Regions from separate parts of the Homo sapiens genome. Here regions 2 and 3 are each linked to region 1. The links are contacts of gene promoters, found by promoter capture Hi-C in blood cells and fetal thymus (Javierre and others, 2016). All regions are on one chromosome and are shown on one strand. The core of a region is centred on a gene start or on the middle of the fragment in contact, and the rest is flanking DNA. Distances in the headings are between cores, read along the strand shown. Region 1 holds the start of RABEP1 (rabaptin, RAB GTPase binding effector protein 1). Region 2 overlaps C1QBP (complement C1q binding protein). Region 3 overlaps DHX33 (DEAH-box helicase 33).

Region 1 (4,629 bases), core at 268-2,767:
AATGCTCTCCCTCCCCTTCCCCCCACCCCCCACAGGCCCCGGTGTGTGATGTTCCCCTCCCTGTGTCCATGTGTTCTCATTATTCAATTCCCACTTATGAGTGAGAACATGAGGTGTTTGGTTTTCTTTTCCTGTGTTAGTTTGCTGAGAATGATGGTTTCCAGCTTCATGCATGTCCCTGCAAAGGACATGAACTCATTCTTTATGCTTTCACTTTAGCTTCTTTTAGGGATGTCTAGACTCTGCCATAGAGAGAATGGATCTGGGAAAGAGACCACAGCTTCAGCCATCTGGAAAGGGAATTCTGGGGCCACAAGTATTCAGAACTTGGTCCTGAAGTGCCAAACCCTGTGGACTCCCTCATCCTGGGGTGGGATTGCTGGGTCTTAAAATGTACATAATTCCTGATGCTCCTCTCTGATTTCAAAATAGCTTTTTAGGCCGGGCGCGGTGGCTCACGCCTGTAATCCCAGCACTTTGGGAGGCTGAGGCAGGCGGATCACGAGGTCAAGGGTTTGAGACCAGCCTGACCAACATAGTGAAACCCCGTCTCTACTAAAAATACAAAAATTAGCCGGGTGTGGTGGCGTGCGCCTGTTGTCCCAGCTAGTCGGGAGGCTGAGGCAGGAGAATTGCTTGAACCCGGGAGGCAGAGGTTGCAGTGAGCCGAGATCGCACCATGGCACTCCAGCCTGGGTGTCAGAGTGAGACTCTATCTCCAAAAAAAAAAAAAAAGCTTTTTAAACTACCTCCTTGGCATGGGGCACTCCAGGTGTCGAAATCAGACGGGGAGTGGTGATTAGAGGGGAGTTCCTAAAGTATAGGGCCCAGGGGCCCAAGTATAAGGGCCACACTTTGTGTATATGATTTCTCCTTTCCTGCCATGAGTGCAGGGTCTGTACCTGGCTGTATCTCCAGCATCTATCACGACTGAAAACCCAAACGTATTTGCTGAATGGATAGTATACTGGCCTCTGCACCAGAAGACCTGGGGTCCAGGCCCAGTACTGTCGGAAACAGTTCTTCATACTTTATTACCTCGTTTAAACTTTTCTTAGCCATTATATTGATAAAAATTCCAAGAGGTGAAGTGACTCTCCCAAGGTCGCAAAGCTAGAAGAGGTAGAGGCTGGAACTGCACCCCGCCATCGGTCCTCCTCTCTTACTCATTTTTTTTTTTCCCCTCACTGTGCTGGGGTGGAGAACCGGGACCGGCACCTTCGAGAGGCCAGGCCTCTGCTGCAGCCCCTCTTCTCCAGCTCCGCTCGGCACTCAGCCTCCCCGCGCCGCTGGGTCAGGCGCCCAGCTCCGCCGAAACCCTCCCCTCCCGCCGCGCTCCCTCCGCGCTCCCTCCGCGCTCCCTCCGCGCTCCCTCCGCGCTCCCTCCGCGCTCCCTCCGCGCTCCCTCCGCGCTCCCTCCGCGCTCCCTCCGCGCTCCCGAGGCCCCGCCCCTCCCCTCGGGCCAACGTCACGTGCCGCCCCATCCCCCTGCGCCTGCGCACTGCTTATTTCCCGCTGTCAGGATGAGGAGGCGGAGGTCGGCGGTCGGGTCCGTCTCTGCCCGCGGCTGTGGCGGCGCCGGCGGATCCAGCCTTAGCGGTTTCTCTCTGGGCGGCGGCGGCGGCGGCTCGGTTGACGCCTCCTCCGCCAGCTGAGCCCGCGGGAGCCCAGGACGCCGCTTCCCCGCCCATCCCCGCTCCCCGAGGCCGGCCGCCTGGTCATGGCGCAGCCGGGCCCGGCTTCCCAGCCTGACGGTGAGGCGCCCACCATGGCAGGCGCGGCGGGCGCGGCCTGCCCGGCGTCGGCGTCGCGGGAGGATTTCGGGGCGGGCAGGCGGCGGCAAGGGCGCGCGCAGGCCCCGGGGGTGACCCCGCCGGGCGGAGGCGGGGGCGCGCGGGCTGCGGCGCGCGAGGGCGGCGCGGGCGCCCCGGCTGCCGTCGCTGGGGAGGGGGCGGGAGGCGCGGGTGCAGCGCTTGCGGGAGGGCAGAGGGAAGGGCGTGGGGAGGCTGCTGGGTAGCGTGGGGTAGTGTGGGGAGGGAGCGGTTCTGGGTAGCGGGGGACCGGCACGTGGGTTCTGCCCGTGGGGGAGGATGGAAATCGGGAACATGTGCTATATTCGTTAAAGAAAAAAAATCTTAGCTTAGGTAGTGTACCCTCCCTGCCGCCCCAATCCTTGCTATAGAACTCTTTGCACCCAGTTATGTGACCTGAAAGTAGTTGTGTACAGTAACTGGATTTAGTAGCATTCCCTGAATGGCAGTGTGGCTTAATGGTTAAGTGTTGGGGCCTGGGAGTCTAGAGGACCTGTATTCTTAACCAGCAAGCTCTGGGCTCATTTCTTAGCCTCGTTGAGCCTCAGTATTCTCACCCACGAATTAACCAAGAGGTTAATTCATGCCTTTATATTTTATCTATAAAAATAGCAACACGAATGTGTATATACAATAATAGTATTATGGAGGTATTAGGAATAATGAGAATAGTGTTTGAGAATGCTGAGGCCTACTTGCACTACTTGAAGATATTTGCTTGTGGAACTAAAAAAAAAAAAGTGAAGTCGAAGAAATGTGTCATTTATATTCTTGGAAGGAAAAAAGGGCCCCATCCTAAATAATCAAAGTTGGTTGTCAGAGCCCTTCGTGACCTTCTGGGAAATTGGACTAAGCTGTGCTTCACAGATTGACTACATGGTTCCAGGTTTTACCACCTAGAATAGATGTTTGGAAATAGTGTGCTTGGGCTTTTCCAAGGTCCCACTGTATCTAGTTGTGAAAGTACTTTCTGGTGTATTTCTATAATCAGCGTGTGTGCTTAGCATCTTTAAGTGTGAGTAGAGTAGAATGTTGGGAAAAGGGGCTTGGTACGGAGTAGGTACTTTAAAACTTGGCTTTCCTTGGGGTTGTCTCAAAATAACCTTTCGTGAAACCCTTACTTTTTATTTTTGCCTTTGGGGAACTTGAAACCATGTTATCAGATTTTAAGGTTCTGGCTGCTCTCTGGGAAATGTGCTTCAGAGCCTGTTAGCCTGTAGTTTTGGGTGTTGTTGCTTGCCTAAGGGGAGATGTCCAGTAAGCATTTAGACTTTTATAAGAACCTGCTTTGCTGTTTCTGTTCCAGGAGAAGGGAAGGGAAGCATTTTTGGTGGGCTGTCAGAGAGAGGAAACTGGGATGTCTTCAGGCTGCATTTTAATGATCACCTTTTGCATTTGGTGTCAGGCAAGAAAACTTTGTTCTTCCACAATCCCACTTTGTTACTGCACACAGAGGCAAGATACAGAGAGCTTGTGGTTCTGAACAGGAGTGGTAGGTATGCATAGCTGGCTGCTGCCTTCTCTTGAGTTGCATGGAAAGAAACGTCTAGGGCAGCTCAGGTGACATGACCGTCTGGAATCAAAATTCCCTGCCTCTTTGAAGATATGAAATGGTCTTCCTTGTAAATAGGCAGAAGTGACTAAGCACTTGAACGAGGCTAGGGAAAACTAGCTTTAGGAAATCTTGTATTCTTGGTATTTTAGTTCAGGTTTCTTTCCTATTTCTCAAATCTTGTGACTCTAGGATGAGATTTAGTTTGCATAGATTGCAATTTTTATTTTAAATTAATGTAGGTAGCCATGGCTACTTTTTACAGTAGGAGAGAGATAATTTGGTACGTTTGAGTGCCTTGTGTCAGTGCCTTAGAAGTTCATCTTGGGGATTTTAATTTTTTTTTTTTTCTTTGAGACAGTATCTCACTCTGTTGCCCAGGCTGGAGAGCAGTGGCGCGATCTTGGCTCACTGCAGCCTCGACCTCCTGGGGTCAAAGCAATCCTGCTACCTCAGCCTCCCAAGTAGCTGTGACTACAGGTGCATGCCACTATTCCCAGCTAATTTTTGTATTTTTGTAGATACGGCGTTTTGCCATGTTGCCTAGGCTGGTCCCAAACTCCTGAACTCAAGGGATCCACCTGCCTACACTTCCCAAAGTGCTAGGATTGTAGGTGTGAGCCCGTGAGTCCGGCTTTTGGGGATTTAATTTGTGTCTTTAGCTGAACTCATGTAGACCATTTTAGCTTTAGGCACGTTTGAATTTCCTAGTCCTGCTGATTAAAAAAAAAAAAAATCGCCAGAATTCTTTTGTGTCAAACTGGTGGTGAAAGATAACTAACTGCTTAGTCTTTGACTTTATCTTGTTTTATCCTGTTTCAGAAGCGATTGTCTTTGATGACTTTTTAAAAAAAAAAAAATATTGTCTGTTTTTCATGGCCATATGGTAGATTAGGAAAATCGATTTGTGTGTAAATCGAAGGGATGAAATGTAATCATTTTATTCATTGTAATTATTTTGTAAGTTAAAAAAAGTTTTGGGTTTTTGATACTGCATCTTAGTTTACTTATTTGGAATACAGGTAATTTTAATAGTTAAAGAAATTTCAGTTGATCTGTTTTCCCTTGAGAATTTAAAAATGAAAATTTTCTAATTTTAGTATTTCTTTTAATCTAAGTTCAACTATATCTTTGAAGCATTTGCTCTGGTTTTACTTCACTTTTTTTCTTTTTTTTTTTTTTCTTTTGTAGAGAGGGTCTCATTGTGTTGCCCAGTCTGGTCTTGAACCCCTGGGCTCAAGTGATTCTCCCATCTTGGCCTCTCAG
Region 2 (4,751 bases), core at 1,667-4,166, 150 kb after region 1:
CCAAGGCCCAAAAGGTTCCCCCACCTTATCAAGCACTCACCCAGTCCAAGGAATCTGTGTTGAGTGTATAATTAGTATCCTTCCATTCAGACTCGCCAGTGGACTGAAAGCTAACTTCCCTGATAGAGAAGATGTCACTCTCAGCCTCGTCTTCTTGTCCAACCTGAGAAGAAACAATATTGGGAAACTGAAGGGTTCTCCAGGACAAGCTAGACTCAGGGGAAGAAAGGGGGCCACTGACAGCATGAAACTCATCAGGTTTTAACCCTCTTCCCTCACTCCCCACCTCTCTCCCCCTGCTGGGCTGGTCTAAGCTAGAAAAGTGTTTAAATTTCTGCTAAAATAGGGACAGGAAGTTCCCAAGGGACACACTGTTCCCCAGGGGTGCCAAGAGGCTAGCACTCCATCCTGCATACCTCATCCTCTGGATAATGACAGTCCAACACAAGGGCCTTCTTGCCATCATCATTCTTTATAACTTCAACCACGAAATTGGGAGTTGATGTCAGTTCAGGCTGGGGAAACAAGAAGTCAATACATGCTGCTGCTGGAAGGAGATGGATGGCTGGATCAAGGATCTCTGTTCAGAGTGTCTGATGGCCACCACTATTAGGATATTATGTAGCCATTTGAATAGTCTTATGCCATACTATTCCCAAATGAAGAGCTTGATCTCACTTCTGTTGGCACCCTGCTTGGTTAAATAACACACTGGGTTTTCAGTTAAGAAATGTGGATACCAGCCTCAGCTATGTGCCAATTAACTGAGTTTATATCAGTCCCTTAACATTCCAAGCCTTTTCCTCCACCCGTACACTGCAAAGCTTTCCTAAAGTTTCAAGATCTCTTTCCAGCTTGACTGTTCCAGGAGTCTTCATAAGGGACCAGGGTCAAAGGCTGGGGAACCTGGCCATCCTTATGGCTGAATAACAGCAGCAGCTTTTCCTCTGATGCGGAGCTCTGGGAGCAGACTGGGTCCAACGTCAGGGAGATGCTAGTTGGGGTGGCTGGGAAAGCAGCACACCAGAGAGCTGCGCCGTCCACACCAGGTCATGACCCAACACTGTACTGATGGCTCTTGGGCAGAATGTCTAGGGACTCTGTGGCCCTCATACTGGCTGGTTACTAGGCTGGGCACAGCACTTCCTGAAATGTTTGAAGAGTAGGCATGATCCAGTTAAAGTCTCTTATGCCCCTGCCATTCTCTCTCTCTTTTTTTTTTTTTTTTTTTTTTGAGACAGAGTCTTGCTCTGTCGCCAGGCTGGAGTGCAGTGGTGTGATCTTGGCTCACCGCAACCTCTGCCTCCCGGGTTCAAGCGATTCTCCTGCCTCAGCCTCCCGAGTAGCTGGGATTACAGGGACCTGCCACCATGCCCAGCTAATTTTTGTATTTTTAGTAGAGACGGGGTTTCACCATGTTGGCCAGGATGGTCTCGATCTCTTGACCTCGTGATCTGCCCGTCTCGGCCTCCCAAAGTGCTGGGATTATAGGCGTGAGCCATGCGACTGGACTTAGAGGAATTTTTTTTTTTTGAAAGACCAAAGAAAAACGCTCCTCCTCTAAGCCCCAGGCACAGCCTGTCAGAACTGAGGTAAAAGCTGATTATAGTATTAGCTTACCTCCTGTTCTTCAACCTTCTGCCCTTGCGAGGGTTCCTCCTCACCATCAAATGTTGGTGGGATGCTGTTGTTAATGTTGAAAGTGACCGTGATTCTAAAACGGCAAGGGAAAACAGACAAGGCAAAACAGACAAGGCATGGTTTTAACCGAGCAGGTTAACACATAAACATGGAAATCTGCTACAGTTAAAAAGGCGTATTGAAACAATGTCTCTGTCCTAGCTGGCTGAATTATATGCAGAACTTCAAACTAGGCTGGGTGCCTACATCCAATCCTGAGTGACTCAGCAGGTCTGAAGTGTGCCTACCATGTACCAGCTGCTGGAAGCCAAAGCTGGCCTCAGTTTATCTCAGCCAAACAAGTCATGCATGGGTTACTCCCAACAGGGCCAGTACCCCAGGGCTCACTGCCATGTGCTGACTGGGCATCTCATGGCCACAGCCAGCTGACACTGCCCACCCTGGTCTTTCCAGGGAACCCTTGGTCAAAGTAAGGACCTGAGAGGCTGGTGAGATGGAACAGAAGCCCCTTTAAGAGACTTTCCCCGTCAGAAAATTTGCCCTGCAAGGAAAGGAAGAAGCGATGGAGGGTGCCTCTGCTAAACACCGAGAGCAGCCCTGGAACGGGGAAGGGAATGCCTCACAAAGAACAAGGGCTGTAGTAGAGACTCATCCCTTAGAGTACTTGTGGGAAGTTTCATAATCACAAAGCAGGCCAGACACACCAACTAGTGACAATTTTAAGGTGCAAGAATCCACACCTGACAAATCATGTTCCAAAGTTTGAGTCAAAATTCTTGGGACATAAGGTTTAGAACCAAAACTGCTGGGCTATGCAACTCTGGCAGGCACCATTCCACACAAGAGTACATGAAGGCTGGGCGCAGTGGCTCACGCCTGTAATCCCAGCACTTTGGGAGGCCGAGGTGGGCAGATCACGAGGTCAAGAGATCGAGACCATCCTGGCCAACACGATGAAACTCCATCTCTACTAAAAAATACAAAAAAAAAAAAAAAAAAAAAATTAGCTGGGCGTGGTGGTACGCGCCTGTAATCCCAGCTACTCAGGAGGCTGAGGCAGGAGAATTGCTTGAACCTGGGAGGTGGAGGTTGCAGTGAGCCGAGATCACGCCACTGCTCTCCAGCCTGGAGACACAGCAAGACTCTGTCAGAAAAAAAAAAAAAAAAAAAAGAGTACATGAAGTGCCGCCCTCCACTTGTGCTAACTAGCTGCTCTGCCAGGAAGCCACCTTTCCATGGCAACAGAGGCAGTCTGAGGTTGACAAAATCTGTCTAATTCCAACTGTGCTGACTAAGCTGAGCTCCTGGGCACAGAAATTGAATGACGTTCATCAGAGCATTATTTTTAATGGCCCCCAAATAGCTATGAAAACCTTGCGCAAATGGTGTTTAGGTGAGATTACAGAAGACACAATTGACCTGTGTAGGGCAAAAACACACTATGCAACAGGCAAGAGAATCAGGACCCTACTTCACACCATATTCAAAATGAATCACAGACCTAAACTAAGAGCTAAAACTAGAAAACTTTGAAAAAATTAAGGCATACATCTTCACAACCTTGGGTTAGGCAGTGGTTTCTTAGACGTGACACTAAAAAAGCACAAGTTGCACTTGGTGAATTAGAAGCAAAGTAAAAAATAAATAAAAAAGCACAAGCGACCAAAAAAATAGGTAAACTGAACTTCCTCAAAATTAAAAACTTTTGTGTCAGAGGACATTACCAAGAAAGTGAAAAGGAAACCCACAAGATGGGAAACAGTACTTACAAATCATTAATTTGATAAGATAGTTGTACCCAGAAAAACTTAACTTTTACAACCCAACAATTAAAAAGGTAAATAGGGTGGGCAGGGTGGCTCACACCTGAAATCCCAGCACTTTGGGAGGCCAAGGCGGGCGGATCACGAGGTCAGGACTTTGAGACCAGCCTGGCCAACACGGTGAAACCCTGTCTCTACTAAAAATACAAAAATTAACCGGACGCACGCCTGTAATCCCAGCTAAGGAGGCTGAGGCAGGAGAATTGTCAGAACCTGGGAGGCAGAGGTTGCAGTGAGCCAAGATCGCACCACTGCACTCCATCCTGGGTGACAGAGCAAGACTCCGTGGGGTTGGGGGGGGAAGCTACAAATTGTATGACTCCATTTATATGAAATGTCCAAAAGAGGCAATCCCATAGAGAAAGTAGCTTAGTGATTACCTGGGGTGGCTACAGGGAGGAATAATGAGTGACTGCTAATAGGTATTGTTTGGGGATGACAACAGTGTTCTAGAATTAGGTAGTGATAACTGATGCATAATTCTGCGAGGACTAAGAACCACTTAATTTAATAAACTTCAATAAATGGGTAAATCGTATGCCATCTCAATTAAATCTCATAAAAGCTGTGATTTAAAAAAATTACATACACATCATAAGGTCAATTATGAAGGAAATTCAATTTATTTATTTATTATTGAGATGGCGTCTTGCTCTGTTGCCCAGGCTGGAGCGCGGTGGCGCGATCTCGACTCACTGCAACCTCCACCTCCCAGGTTCAAGCGATTCCCCTGCCTCAGCCTCCCGAGTAGCTGGGACTACAGGCACGTGCCACCATACCCGGTTAATTTTTACTAGAGCCAGGGTTTTAGTGTTAGCCAGGATTTTCTCCTGACCTCATGATCTGCCCGTCCCAAAGTGCTGGGATTATGGGTGTGAGCCACCGCGCCCAGGCTCAATTTAAAAACCTGGAAGATGCCAAATGTTTATCTGTGTAATGAGATTATGGATGACTATAATGCAGAAAAGTGTAAACACTTTAACAGTTTAGGAGATGATGGGGGAGCTGACTTAGGTCACAAACTCCCCACCTCTGATGGCAGCCCTTACTACAGTGTAACCCCATCCTGTTACATAGAAGTTACATATTTTTCATTTTCACCCATACTAAACATTAGAGAGCAGTGTCCTATTTTATCAGGGCTGTAAATCAGAGATCAAACTGATTCTGCCAGTACTTTTTTGCACTACATTTTTGTCTCCTTAGTAACCAGCCCACAGCAAATTTGTGTTCGGTGAATGGACTGCCTGGGGCTTACGAAGTTGTCCAAATGAATCCTTCACTCTC
Region 3 (4,916 bases), core at 927-3,426, 170 kb after region 1:
GTCAAAGAACGACATCACTGTCTTTAGTTCAATTCCCTTTTCTTTTTTGAGACAGAGTCTTGCTCTGTTGCCCACACTGAAGTGCAATGGCGTGATCTCGGCTCATTGCAGCCTCTGCCTCCTGGGTTCCAGCGATTCTCCTGCCTCAGCCTCCCCTATAGCTGGGACCACAGGCGCCCACCACCGCGCCCAGCTAATTTTTGTATTTTTAGTGAGACGGGGTTTCACCATGTTAGCCAGGCTGGTCTCAAACTCTTGACCTCAGGTGATCTGCCCACCTTGACCTCCCAAAGTGCTAGGATTACAGGTGTGAGCCACCATGCCCAGCCTCAATTTTCTTTTTAAATGACCTGTAATTTGGCAATATGTATGTAGATTTTGAATATACACATTAAAAGTGTAACATCTGACCCAGCAATGTTACACTTACGAATTTCACCTGCAGATACACATCGCACAGAGACCATATCGCCAGAACCAAACACATAACAGTGGAAATAGCAGTTGTCTCAGGGGCCAGCTGGGGAGGCTGGGAGACAAGGGGATGAGAAGGACATTATTACTATTTACTATTTTATATATTTTAAACTTTGAACCATGTAAATATAGTACCTATTAAAGAATAAAAAAGCATTTCTAAGGATGTAGTAAATATATACATCCCAATAAGGAGTGATCTGTAAAATGTATTAAATGAAAAAAAGCAGTGTGTTTCTCATTGCTTTTTTAAAGCAATATTTATCAACTGAAGGATGGATAAATGCATTTTGGTTTATTCACAGAATGGAATAGCACTTAGTGTGAAAAAGCATCAGCACAAATATACTATACGGAACAAGCTGAATGAAAACCGCTTACTCAAGAATAACTAACATAAACTTACAAACAACAGGTGGTTTAGGGATACATACGCATATAGTAAAACAGTGAAGAAAAGCAAGGCAATTACAAACAAAATATGGAAGAGTGGGTACCCCAAAAGAGTGGAAGGAGGCGAGGGCAAGTGGGTGGGGGGGACTCCTGGGGGCTTCAATTGGGTACACAGGTGTTAGATTTTAACCATTCCTTACACCTTATGTATCTTCTTCATTTGTATGTAAGAATTTAGCAATGAAAGAAAAAAAATCAAGCACAGAACAATACTCAATGTGTGTTGCTATTTGTGTTTTAAAACATACTACAGGCTGGGCGTGGTGGCTCACGCCTGTAATCCCAGCACTTTGGGAGACCGAGGTGGGCGGACCACCTAGGTCAGGAGTTCAAGACCAGCCTGGTCAACATAGTGAAACTCCATCTATACTAAAAAATACAAAAATTAGCCGGGCATGGTGGTGCACACCTGTAGTCCTAGCTACTCGGGAGGCTGAGGCAGGAGAATCACCTGAACCCGGCAGGTGGAGGTTGCAGTGAGCTGGGATCGCACCACTGCACTCCAGCCTGGGCAACAGAGTGAGACCCTGTCTCAAAACAAAAACAAAAACAAAAACATACTACAGCAGGGGCTTGGTGGCTCACACCTGTAGTCCCAGCTACTTGGGAAGCTGATGTGGGAGAATCACCTGAGCCCGGGAGGTTGAGGCTGCAGTGTGCTGAGAATGTGCCACTGCACTCCAGCCTGGACAACCAGAGTGAGACCCTGTCTCAAAAATAAATAAATAAATACATAAATAAAATCAAACACACTACATATACTCATATATGCATACATTTGCTCTAGAAGTCTACTAGAAAATGGTTCCAGTGGTTGTTCTAGGGGAAGGAAACTGTGAACCTGAGGATCAGGGCAGGACCCTTGTATACCCATCAACTGGTGACTTTGTGTTTTCTTTCCTTCTTTTTTAAACCAATTGCATTTCTTAAGAAAAGGGGGGGCAATAAAAAGAAAAGGAAAATGGTGCGTTGATGAGAGGCCAGGTGCCAAAGCCAATATCATAAATATTTCCAATTATTTTCTTCTTCTGTAGAGAAATTACTAATGAACAGGAGAGATGGATCAAATTCCAGTTAAAGGCAAAGAAATGTGATCTTTGCAGTCCCTGTGCTGATAAAAGTACAATTTCATTACATTTCTGTAGTATCCCAAGGACTCGCATGATGACCTTCACTGGTTCCAGAGGTCAAGGAACTTTATTGATGGTGCTGATAGTACAGAATCTATCGTTTCATAGCTAGGAACACTGGCGCATGCCTGTGGTCCCAGCTACTTGGGAGGCTGAGGCGGGGGGATCGCTGGAGCCCAGGAGTTGGAGGCTGTGATGGAGCCTGTGAATAGTCACTGCACCTCCACCTGGGCCACACAGTGAGACCCTGTCTCTTTAAAAGTCAATCAATGTATCTATCTATCATTTCATGATTTTCAGATGCTTCTCTAATAACTAATGTTGTCATCCACAAAATTAAATAAACAAAAGGAGATGACCAATATACTTTATTTTTTTGGAAGTGTCCATTTGTTGTTGTTTGTCTCCTCACCCACCTTCTGCAAAACTGTGGATTTCACTTACCTGGAGATGGCTTCGACATGAAGTCAAAGGTGAGCACATTTGGGACTTTCATTGCTAGAAGCTGAAGCATCACACTGGCCAGGTTACACCTGTGAAGAGCATGAGACCAGGGTCATGACCTGATCCCTCTGCCATTGAGTCAGAACCCCTCATGGTGGAGTGTGAGTAAAAACTGCAGCTCTGGGCAAGCAGGAGAGACATGGTGACAAACAGCAGCAGTGCAGGAGCAACTGGTGCCTACCTCTGGATCTCTGGCACGGTCATCTTATCAAACTTCTCAAACTCGTCCTCCGTGTAGAGCCGGTAGCAGATGCCACTGTCCTCTCTGCCAGCCCTCCCTGTGCGCTGCCAAGCCTGCGTCTTCGATACCCGCTGCACTGCTAACACCTCAAGACCACTGTCTGGATGGAGAGTGAGCCCCATTAGTGCTTCATCACATGAACAAACTCTTTCTACAGTGTCGATAAAAAGAAGCACACCAGTGGTTCTTTCAGCAACACGGGGGTCCAGAAAGCCTCAAGGCTAGCACAATGGACAGCACAAAACCAGACTGCTCCGCAGCGGTTTGGCCCTAGTGAAACAAGGCTTTGCCATAAGCCCACTGTGAAATCTGTTACAAAAACATCAGAAAAACCTCACGCATGCAGCAAGGGGCGAGAAGAGTAGTTTCCGAGGTCTTGCCTTAGATGGTAGGATGGCCAACCCCTCCAGTTTGCTTGGGACAGAGGGTTTCCTGGGATGTCGGATTTTGGGTGCTAAAACTGGGAGTTTCAGCAAACTAGGATGGGGGTCATACTATCAATCAATGACTACGAAATTAAATGCCTCAAATCACTTGTGTGCTTTATCCTCCCTCCCAGTTCTGCTGTAAGACAGAAATAATGTGATGTCTGTTTTCTAGCAGTAAATGAGGTTCATTTTCTTGATAAAGGTGTATCATTAGCCTGGCACTGGAGACCCAAGCTCTTTCACCTACGTCATCACAAAAAGATACACCTGTGGAAGCCAGGACCCTCAAATGTTTACTAGAGCATTTCAGTTCAATAATTGGGAGCAATAATTTCAGTGGTCTCAAATCCTCTGTGGAATAAAGCAAAGTATAAAACAGACATGAGTCAAGATGACCTTAAGTTAGCTTCTCACTGCACCTTCTTAGGAGAAGCCAGTGCTCCTTCCATGCCTCACCTCAGCCAGGAGATCTGGTTCCTTCCTGAGAAACCTGGGAGCTCAAACCAGCCATATATATATAGTTTCTGATGACACCCTTTGATTGACACCCAGCTGTCCCTGGCCTTAGAGCCGACTTCTGATGGGGTACCAGACCCTCTGCCCAGGTCCCTGACCCTGTGTGCCCAAGTTTGCTCAACCTGGGCTCTTCTTTCCTGCCTCTACTTCCTGTCTCACATACCCGCCTCAGGACTCCTTCGCGGACCTGGAGTGTAGGTGATCTCACTCATGGCGCCTGCCACCTGAATTTGTTAGTTACAAACATGAAACACTCAGGGGAAAACTGTGGGACTACAGTTTCAGTGGCTGCTCACTAGACACAGGAGAGACATTCATGAACTACAAATTCTCACCAGGGTTATACTTCTTTGCTTTAACCATGCCCGTGTCAACTACATATTTTATTCCTGTAATGGTTATGGAGGTTTCAGCGATGTTGGTTGAAATGATCACTTTGCGATAGCCCTAAAAGGAGGAAGAAAACCAAAAAGCCGCATTGACACACGGATGATTCAGAAGTCTTCAAACATATTCTCACCATTAACTTCCACAATTCACTCTTGACCAACAGAAGATGACTCCATTATTAATGGCAGTCATTAATATTAATGGTTGGTCATTAAACCGGGCAGGGGAAGGGGACGCTGCAGTCTTAAAGGTCAATTTGAGGCAATGAGATGCAGTGGAACAAGCACAGGAATCAGAAGCAAGTAGATGTGGGTTGGAATCGTGGCCCTGCCAGTGACTTACTATGCGCCCCCTTGAGCAATTGTTACTTCCCTTCTTGGGGCCTCAGGATCCCCATGGGATCATAACCTGCCTTGCCGGTTCCCACGAGGATGACAGACAGTGGATATAAATGCTAGCACAGTGCCTGGCACGGCAAAGGCACACAAGAAATGGCACTATGGACAAATGCAATTTATGCTGGTCCTTAGAAGTCACTCGTTTACCTTGCAGCTTTGGTTTATACTCTCCCTCATCCCAACAACTGTCTCCCTGCTCCTGTCACAGGAGCGCTGCGTGTGTCACCGCGCATTTTATTCCTGCACCTCCTCAGTGCGCTGATCTGGCACCTGGGTATCCCATCCCATACACCTTATCTGGAGCCTGGTAACAGGTACAGACCTCGCTGGTGGATCCGTCTGGGTGCCCAGAATAGGGCTGGACAGAAGAGGTGGTGCA

What was found. The method cuts DNA at HindIII sites, captures the fragments that hold promoters and counts their contacts. A CHiCAGO score of 5 or more calls a contact.
Region 2: a fragment that was not itself captured here is called in contact with the fragment with the promoter of RABEP1 in region 1 in 2 of 17 cell types (fetal thymus and total B cells); the score reaches 7.7 in fetal thymus.
Region 3: a fragment that was not itself captured here is called in contact with the fragment with the promoter of RABEP1 in region 1 in 1 of 17 cell types (total B cells); the score reaches 5.2 in total B cells.

What each region holds. Positions count from the first base shown.
Region 1 is chr17:5,280,767-5,285,395 of GRCh38, forward strand. It overlaps RABEP1 (rabaptin, RAB GTPase binding effector protein 1), which reads left to right and starts at 1,518. Exons shown (of 18, transcript NM_004703.6): 1 at 1,518-1,754. The coding sequence starts at 1,721. RefSeq lists a silencer at 1,238-1,957 and an enhancer at 3,805-4,323. The HindIII fragment of the contact is 5,707 bases long and covers 735-4,629 here.
Region 2 is chr17:5,433,253-5,438,003 of GRCh38, forward strand. It overlaps C1QBP (complement C1q binding protein), which reads right to left. Exons shown (of 6, transcript NM_001212.4): 3 at 1,621-1,714; 4 at 417-515; 5 at 41-163. Among named protein-coding and RNA genes, the nearest start is that of C1QBP, 3.5 kb to the right of the region's middle. The HindIII fragment of the contact is 4,188 bases long and covers 823-4,751 here.
Region 3 is chr17:5,451,076-5,455,991 of GRCh38, forward strand. It overlaps DHX33 (DEAH-box helicase 33), which reads right to left. Exons shown (of 12, transcript NM_020162.4): 6 at 4,085-4,196; 7 at 2,746-2,905; 8 at 2,505-2,593. Among named protein-coding and RNA genes, the nearest start is that of C1QBP, 14 kb to the left of the region's middle. The HindIII fragment of the contact is 6,981 bases long and covers 1-4,916 here.